Linked DNA regions of Homo sapiens: region 1 is linked to region 2. The links are contacts of gene promoters, found by promoter capture Hi-C in blood cells and fetal thymus (Javierre and others, 2016). All regions are on one chromosome and are shown on one strand. The core of a region is centred on a gene start or on the middle of the fragment in contact, and the rest is flanking DNA. Distances in the headings are between cores, read along the strand shown.

Evidence for each region. The method cuts DNA at HindIII sites, captures the fragments that hold promoters and counts their contacts. A CHiCAGO score of 5 or more calls a contact.
Region 1: a contact is called between a fragment that was not itself captured here and the fragment with the promoter of ERBB4 in region 2, in 3 of 17 cell types (megakaryocytes, M2 macrophages and erythroblasts). The highest score is 6.2, in megakaryocytes.

Annotation. Positions count from the first base shown.
Region 1 is chr2:212,145,546-212,150,337 of GRCh38, reverse strand. All of the region lies in intron 1 of ERBB4 (erb-b2 receptor tyrosine kinase 4), which reads left to right. Among named protein-coding and RNA genes, the nearest start is that of MIR548F2, 280 kb to the left of the region's middle. The HindIII fragment of the contact is 6,037 bases long and covers 1-4,792 here.
Region 2 is chr2:212,537,473-212,541,975 of GRCh38, reverse strand. It overlaps ERBB4 (erb-b2 receptor tyrosine kinase 4), which reads left to right and starts at 3,174. Exons shown (of 28, transcript NM_005235.3): 1 at 3,174-3,527. The coding sequence starts at 3,446. RefSeq lists an enhancer at 4,143-4,503. The HindIII fragment of the contact is 6,206 bases long and covers 1,488-4,503 here.

The DNA of each region.
Region 1 (4,792 bases), core at 1,002-3,501, 390 kb after region 2:
TGTGAAGACAGAGATGCAGGGAGAACACCATGTGCAGATGGAGGTAGAAAGTGGAGTTATCTTGCCAAAAGCCAAGGAATGCCTGGGGCTACTAGAAACTGGGAGAGGCAAAGAAAGATCCTCCCTTAGAGGCTTCAGAGGCAGCATTGTCTCCAGCACTTTAATTTTGGAGGATTTCTTGCCCCCAGAACTGTGAGAGGGTAAATTTCTGCTTTTCTAAGCCACCAGTTTATGGCACTTTATTACAATAACCTTAGGAAATGAATACCCGGTTTTGCAAGTTTCGTCTTCCACTCTGATTCTGGAAAAATGGGTATTTTATAAATGAACAAATATCTGTTGAGTGCCTGCTGCTTGCCTAGGATTCCTTTAGATACTGGAGTTAAGTGTTCCTGATGAGATAAACATGGTCCCTGTCCTCAAGGGGTTTATAGTCTATGACTTGCATGTTCTTATTCCCATGACACTTTGTATTGTCTTAAAACACAAATTTCAATTTTGTTAGAATCATTTGTTGCCATGTCGGTCTACTCCACAAAATAGAGAAATCTTAAGGGCAGGTGCATAATCAGTTCAGAAAGCAATGCTTAGTGAATGAAAAAGAAAGAATGAATGAATTCAGTTTGAGGATGAAAAAAGAAAGACATTATTTAATGGAGAAACAGGGCTAATGGAAGGGTTGTATGTATGCATATGTACATGTTTTATTTTTCTAAATAAGAGCATTTTTCACATTAAAAATAAGACCATATTTGAAACATTTTAACTGCATATGCTACTGTGCCGCTGTTTCTATTTCTACCTTCCTGTAAGTTAGCAAAATACTTTTTTATTTGGTAATATTGTAGACTTGTTGCCTTCAAATATTATCCGATTTCATAAGTTGTTTATTTTCATGTTCAATTTACTACAACTTTTAACTCTTTATAACCCATTTTATTTTATGGATCTATAAAAACCAACACATTTTTTAAAAAAGAGTACATGTGACGAGCACTATAGTTTGAAAGTTCTGTGTCACTGTATGTGAACTTTTAAAGGTGATACTCCAGGCAGCAATTGGAGGCTTATAAACAGGAATGTCATGAAAGATAAATTCATCATAAATTACTTTTCCAAATCTCATGTATGTGAATTTAGAAAATCAAATTTTTTAAAATTTTTTTTTAATTATTATATTTTAAGTTTTAGGGTACATGTGCACATTGTGCAGGTTAGTTACATATGTATACATGTGCCATGCTGGTGTGCTGCACCCACTAACTCGTCATCTAGCATTAGGTATATCTCCCAATGCTATCCCTCCCCCCTCCCCCCACCCCACAACAGTCCCCAGAGTGTGATGTTCCCCTTCCTGTGTCCATGTGATCTCATTGTTCAATTCCCACCTATGAGTGAGAATATGCGGTGTTTGGTTTTTTGTTCTTGCGATAGTTTACTGAGAATGATGGTTTCCAATTTCATCCATGTCCCTACAAAGGACATGAACTCATCATTTTTTATGGCTGCATAGTATTCCATGGTGTATATGTGCCACATTTTCTTAATCCAGTCTATCATTGTTGGACATTTGGGTTGGTTCCAAGTCTTTGCTATTGTGAATAATGCCGCAATAAACATACGTGTGCATGTGTCTTTATAGCAGCGTGATTTATAGTCCTTTATTTTAAAATAAAATATAATTGTTTATTTACTATTCTTAAACTGTGGTATCTTTGATGTATTAAGTCTTTCAGGAAACCAACCATGTCTTTCTCATCTTTGAAATATCCCTTTATCTCCATCTCTCCACATTTCTCCCATCTCTTTCATCCTCAGCTCTTTGAAAGTACCTAGGGCTTTGTATTACTTATGTTTCTTTCCCAAGATAGTAAAGGGAAATAATGCCATCCTATATGTTTTTCTGTGCCATAAAGGAATTCAGAAAACAATAATTTTATTTTTCTTGTACCTCAGAGATAATACACAAACACACAAACTTAATGATACTTTTTCCTTCTTTTTTGAATTATGCGAGGTATCTGCTAATAAGTATATTCCTCTTTGTAGATACAATTTTCTGAATCCAGCTAGTTTTTAGTCTATATTCATTGCATAAAAAAGTAGAATAATCCTGTGTATGCCTCTAGCTGCAATAGAAATCGGTACCAATTATGCCATTGTACTTTTTCACTCTGAATAAAAAAAAAAAAGAAAATACTCTTTGGGAATTGTGCTGCCCCCTGGTGATGAATGGAATAATAAAATAGAACCTTTAAATAAGTTTACTAATAACATATTGTTCATTAATAAATGCAAAATTTAACACAAAGTCTGCACAAAAGGTAATTCAATAAAAAGTGTGCATCCACAACTTAGTCATCTGATATTACAGTGATTATTAGGCCAATCTTAGAAATGGAAAGATGGAGAAAGAAGGATAAATCACAGAAAAGGGACCACAGGCTTGAGAAAAATAAGGATTCCAACTCCCCACAATTGCAAATATGAAGAAACTTTATGTTACCTCAGTTTAGAAAGCCAGTTTCTTCACGGAGGGTTAATGGTAGGCTTCAGATAATGACAGCAAAACAAAACTTTACAATGTTTCTCAAACTAACAAAATTTGATTTTATTGGATTTGATTTTATTTCTGAGAAGTCTTATACCCTAAAGTAGATTTTCAATACATACATCCTCAATTTATTCAATTCTGCTGAGAAGATGCTTCTTTCCTTTCTCATATGTTTACAGAGATTTTTAGAGTTATGTACTGTGGTAGATAGTAGTTTGTGAGTGCTTCATTTTATATCTCTGAGTTTTATCCTGTGTGCTTTAGGATATAAAAATCCACAGTTGATGTCTCATTCTGAGTGCTACTTAGAGGCAATCTAGTCTAGGTAATTCTGAACATAGAATTTTAGAATAACAGTGACCTTACAGATCATCCTATCTAACTCTTAAATGATGCTGGATTAAATCTTCACATTTTATATAATGAAGAAATTCAATTATTTCACAATAATATTGTAATTCTTCTTTTGAAAGTGTAAAGACAGGGCACCATGACTCACGCCTGTAGTCCAAACACTTAGGGAGGCTAGGCAGGTGGATGGCTTGAGCACAGGAGTTCGAGACCAGCCTGGGAAAAATGGCAAAACCCCATCTCTACAAAAAAAAAAAAAAAAAAAAAAAAAAAAATTAGCTGGGCATGGTGGCATGCCCCTGTAGACCCCACTACTCAGGAGGCTGAGGTGGGAGGATCACTTGAACCCCGGAGATGGAGGCTGCAGTGAACCAAGATCCTGCCACTGCAAGACAGCCTGGGCAACAGAGTGAGACCCTGTCTCAAAAAAAAAAAAAAAAAAAAAAGTCTAACAATGACAACAGAGCTTCTCTCTGCCAACTTTTTCCCCCAGATATTCCTTTCTTCTGTCTTGTCCCCATATCAGTTTTACCCTATTTTAACCAATGCCTTTTTAGATAGAGAGATTCTTGGGTGTTAAGGGATAACTGGGTGGGAAGAAATGTCTGGCACCATTCTGCTACTGCCTTTCCAAATCAATTGAGAAAATAAATCTAAAGATGTGCACAGACTCCACTGCACTCACAGAATTGGTGTTTGTGCACTGTTAATTAAATAAACATTAAATAGAGTGAATGCTTGCCGTAGTTAGGGACGTCTTTGCAAAAAGCCCCCTAGCTGTTCAGGGATAAATAATGTAGGAGTACCAGAGGAGTTTATGTATTGCTGGCCTTGCTATGGAATCTCAGTGCTTCAGAGCCAACACAATGTTTTATGCAAGTTAGATCCCCAGGCGACACTTGGTCCTCAAGTTTGCTGACTTTTCAAGTAGAAGGAGAAGAAATAGTGCACAATTTCAAATGAAGAATACTTACTGAGCTAAGAATTGTTTTTCTACTAGCTTAGCACCATATGCTTCTAGAGTTATATTGTCAACAATTCTTGGCACTTGTGTATTTGGCTATTTATTTAATGTTGAGGCTGAAAACAGGGTGACATCGGCAAAAGGCAGAGAACAGAATAAAACAGAAAATAGAAGTCCCAGCAAGGCAGTTTGCAGTCTGTCACCATTCAGGATAAGAGAAATAGTGGGCATTAACATTATTGAGGAGCCCAATCTAAACATATAACTGAAACACTAAATATTTAATTCATTACCTCAGCTAAATTATTGGGCTGAAAGCTGGAGATACTGGCCACAGCAAAGTCAAACAATAATGTCAAGATGCCAGGATAATATGGAACTAAATGAAATTGCAGGCTTTTGTCAGACCTCTTTTATGAGAAAGGGAGGAGTAACCAGGCTCTTTAGTGGAGACACACCAGGAAGCATAAGTAGACTATCCCCTTTGGGCCCTTAGGGGGACAGGAAGTATAGATTGGGTGTAAGTTCACTGGGTCCGAGCAAGGGTAGGATGAAATGAAAGAGTTTTCCACAGTGGTGATGAGAAGGGGAGCCGCTTTGAAGGATGGGTAGGAAAGTGAGAGATAATAGACACCAAAGAGTTCTCAAACAGATTGACAAAGAGAAAAAAATAAGACGATAAGGATGAGAAAGTACAACAGAATGAACTCCAGTGGCTTTTTTTTTTTTTTTTTTTTTTTTACTGCATGCTGGCTGCTTCACTCCGTGTTGAGTGGGCACAGCCAAGGCTGTACACTTAGCTGTTGAATCTCAGGTGTGACCTGCATTGCTTAGCAAGATGAAGAGTGAGTGGACTGGGTGACTCTTAAGTCTAAAGGCCTATAGCAATTTCTTGTTTTATCACTGGAAGTCTGAATAGCAAT
Region 2 (4,503 bases), core at 1,925-4,424:
TTCTACATCAGCTAGTAAATATTCCCTACTCTGGTATTTGTTTCTTATAATGACTTAGATGAGATGGGAAGCAAATGAGGGTAGACACTGAAATAACTGATTCTTGACTTGAGCTCATGGCTTCTTTCTCATCCTTTGGCTTGCCCATACAGGGTACTACCTTCCTGTCTACATTTCAAATTATCTGAGCTGGAATCTGATTGGGTAGACAAGGCACCATCAAATATATCATGCTTTTTTTGGCAAAAGCTTTGATGTCAAATCATTTTATAGGCTGCTGTTCAGATACCCATCTGTGGCCACATATCTAAAATTGTTGTTTCAATGTTAGAATGAGTAAAATGGGGATCAAGGCAGAACAAACAGAATTAGAGGGAAACTGTGGGTATGTTGGGTAATGTAATAGGTGAATCCTTGTATGGGCTGTTTAATATCCACAAAAATATATACTAAGTGTTTTTTTAAACCAATGAATATTAATGGAAAATCCTCCTTTGTCAAGAATTATTCTAGAAGATATGGGTGAGAGCAGGGCATATAGAAGATATTCTGTTATAGAAAAGCTATAAAATTGACAGGGGAACAAAAACTAACATAATTGGCACAACTATAAAAAAATCCAAAATATTCAGGCCATGAAGTTTTTGCCCTACAATTTAAGCGAAAATATGCAACTCATTTATTCACTTTGTCTTTTTTTTCTTTTTCTTTTTCTCTCTTTTTTTTTTTCAGAGATAGGGTCTTGCTCTATCTCCCAGGTTGGAGTGCAGTGGCATGATCATAGCTCACTGTAACTATTAACTCCTGGGCTCAAGCAATTCTATCCCATCTCAGCCTCCCAATAGCTAAGACTACAGGTGTGCACCACCATACCCAGCTCATTAAAAAAAAAAAAAAAAAAAGGTAGAGTTGAGGTCTCACTATGTTGCCCAGGTTGGTCTGGAACTTCTGGCCTCAAGGGATCCTCCCACTTCAGCCTCCCAAAATGCTAGAATTACAAGCATGAGCCACCACACCTGGCCCATTCCTTCACTTCGTGCAACATAATTGCCATCAGAAACCAGACTTTTTTTTTTTTTTTACTACAGAGACTTAAACTTTTACAAAAGGAAGATGTTTTTCTCATTTAAATTGTCATTCTAGGGACAGAAAGTAAGTTTTGAAAAGAAGTAGCTTTTATGGAAGAGAGGTGCCTGAGAATTTCAAAAGGATTTAAGACAAGGGGAATGAGAAGAGATTGAATGAAAGAAGAGAAAACAGAGAGAAAGAGTAATTAAAAAAAAGAAAAGAAAAGAAAACAAAGATAATCCCAAAGAGCAGTGTGCACAGTTTTGCTGCAATCAGTACCATTCTGGTCAAGTCTCCGTCATCTGCTCTAGGCTTAGTTCCTCTCTGCCCTAGGCTGCTTCTGGTAAAACCGCACGCTCAGCTTGTTGGGCGTCTTCATGGAGCCTGTTATTTGCTGTGGGTCTAAGAAAGGGAAAGCTTCAGGCTTCAGGCATCTGTACCTCCTATCTGTTCTCAGCTCCATGGAAATTCTTAAGGGATGGGGCTATAGATAAGAGAGTGGGAAATGGAGATCAAGGTCTCAAATGAAAGGCAGGGTGGTTTGATTTTTAAGCTCCCCTGATACTTTTTATTTATATATTTGCTGCTTCTAGAAAAACCAAAAAAGGAAAGTGATTCATACATAGAATGCCTGTACAAATAGCAAACCAATAACTACCCCCAGCAGATTCTGGCCCTTGCCAGGGTGCGGTTTCAGAGCTGTAAAAGGCAAGGGATATGTACATTGAAATGACCCAGTCCCAGAATATTTTAGATTCAGAAAAGGTCAGAGACTTTCGTAACTAGCAATGACCTCCAGATTAGGGACCATGAATGTGCAGAGTGAGGACAAGGAAGGGGCCTAAAGCTGGGTCTACTGTAGAATAAACAGAATCATTTAAGGTTAATTATGTTCTGATGTGGCCTCCTTAAATTCTTTCAGGCTGGGGACAATTTCTAGCCCTTTAAGATCAAATCAGTGGCTTTGGACTAGAATCTGCTTAATAAGAATGAACTCCAAAGGTGAAAAAAAAACATAAAATCTAAAAATCAAAGGATATGCCTTTATAAATGTGAAAGTTTAGTTTGGCTCAATGTTGGTCAGTTTAGAAATGTGGGAGTAATCGGAGAGATGGCATAACTGGGGGCGGGAGGCGGGGCGGTGATTATACCCCTACCACTACCTAATCCTCAGGGGCTACCAGTTACTTGCTGTACACACTTTTAAAGTACTTTCTAATTGTGGACCATGAGTGGCAGAGTACTGCGGGCGGAGGCTTTTTGCTGAAAGCAACATTGACTTTTATTTCTAGGGAAAGTCTTGTCTGTAGATGAGCACCGTGGGGCAACGGAGAAAATGCTGACTTTCTTGTTTAAAAAAAAAAAAAATTTCCGTAAGCGGCCCTCCAATGGTCCGTCCACTCAGCAGGCCAGCTGTCCCAGGCCTCTGCCAGGGAGGGAAGACGAGTGCTTCAGTGCATGGCTTCGGTGAGCCCTTTAAATCCAGCTTCCCCTGCCCCCACCAAGAGGCTCCCTTTCCCTGACAGGTGTTTTCCCAACTCCGGAGGCCCAGGATTTTGGGGAGTGGCTGAGCCAATAAGATTTCCCTTTGGAAGGGGGGGGGAAGGGCGTGGCTAGTTGGGTCAGAGCATGGGCGGGGTTTGCGCGGCTGAGCAGAGCCGGCCTGGTTGCGTGGAGGGTTGTTTTATTCCCACCGCCCCCCGCACCTTTTTTTTTTTTTTTTCTGGAGTCTTATTAATTTCTCTGTGGGCTGCAGCTGGAGACCGCGGAGCGCTGGAAATGACGCTCGGAGCTTTAATTACCGCAGCCGCCGGACAAGTGTGAGGAAAGCTGAGAGGAAAAAGAAGGACGGGATCCGGGGAGAAGCGAGAAGCTCCCCCCGCCCCGCTCCCCTCCCGATTTGGACTGGAGGTGCAAGGAAACTGAAGAAGGAGCAGAACATAGCCCGGCTGCGGGGAGAGGCCGGAAACCTACCGCCTCTTTGCAATCAACTTTTTTTGGAAACCTTTCGCCCCCCTTCCTTTTTTATTGTTGACCAACCAGTGAGAGAGAGAGAAAGTGAGGAGGGAGCGAGCAAGCGAAGGCTCACGCGGGGAAATAGCTGCACAGTCCGGCCCAGAGCGCCAAGCGCACACACCGAGCACACTCCCACACGCGCACACACGCGCTCACACTCGCCCCCTCCTCGGGCCCCGGCCCTGGACCCGCGGGCGCGGACTCGGTCGCCCGCCCTGGGAGTCGCCACACCGCGCGCGCCGCGCCCGCCCCCCTCGCACCCCCACGCGCGCCCGGCTGGGGGATCTCCTCCGCGTGCCCGAAAGGGGGATATGCCATTTGGACATGTAATTGTCAGCACGGGATCTGAGACTTCCAAAAAATGAAGCCGGCGACAGGACTTTGGGTCTGGGTGAGCCTTCTCGTGGCGGCGGGGACCGTCCAGCCCAGCGATTCTCAGTCAGGTGGGTTCCTTCTGGCACTCCGGTCGCCGAACCTGCAGCCGCCGGCGGGGCTGCCTCGAGTGGCTCCCCTGCCCTCTTCACCCATCCCGGGAGGCGTGGAGGGACCGCTTGACCGGGGCCTCTTCCCTGGGCTTTCGGTCACCCCTCTTTCCATTTGAAACTTACCCTGTATGTGTGCGTTTGCTTTATTTATCGTGAAAAATCACTCTGAGTCCCTCTTTTCTCTCCTTAACCCCCTGCTTTTCTTTCCCGAGCGTTTTGTTTGGGAGCCTAAGCGGGATCCCTTCTGGTGGCGCCTGTTGTTCGGGACATGGGAGACCCAAATCCCCAGTCAGAGGAGACTCTTCTGTCCCTGTCGGGTCCCCGAGGGCAGAACCCGCACCGCCGGGGCCGCGGTCCTGGGGCGGTGCTGGCTGGGCCTCTCCCGAGCCGAGCCCGAAGGGCGGTGGAGAGCGGCGCTCAGAAAATCGGGCTTTGCACCTGTGTGTGCTGCTGGCGACCGCTGCGCCCCCAGTCGCCCGAGCCTTGTGGCGTCAGACGCAACTCGCGCCCAGCCCGGGCAGCCGGAGTGCAGCAGGCGGGCGCGCCTCGGTCCGGGGCCCGGAGTTCTGGGCCTCTTCCGCCGGCTTCCCGGAGCCCTCTCCCCATTGACTTGAGGGGCGCTTACTCGCCTGCCTGACCTCTTAAAAAAAAAAAAAAAGGCTTGGCACACTTGAGCCAGAAGCCCGGCCTTCCCGTCGGTTGCCGTGTTTGGCTCCGGGAAGAGTTCTTCCTGTAGTTCAACTTGCTATTGGCCGGAGTCCTTCAAACTTGTCTGTTTACTGCCCGGCCAGGCTGCCGAGCCTGCGGGTCACTGGATCCACCCGAGGCGAAAGCGGCAGCGGCGATGGGTGCGCGGCCACTGCTTGCTGGAGAGCTCGAGCCCCAGGTACCTGGGCAGGCAAAGGGCTAATTGACCCCGAGAGGCAGCGCGGCG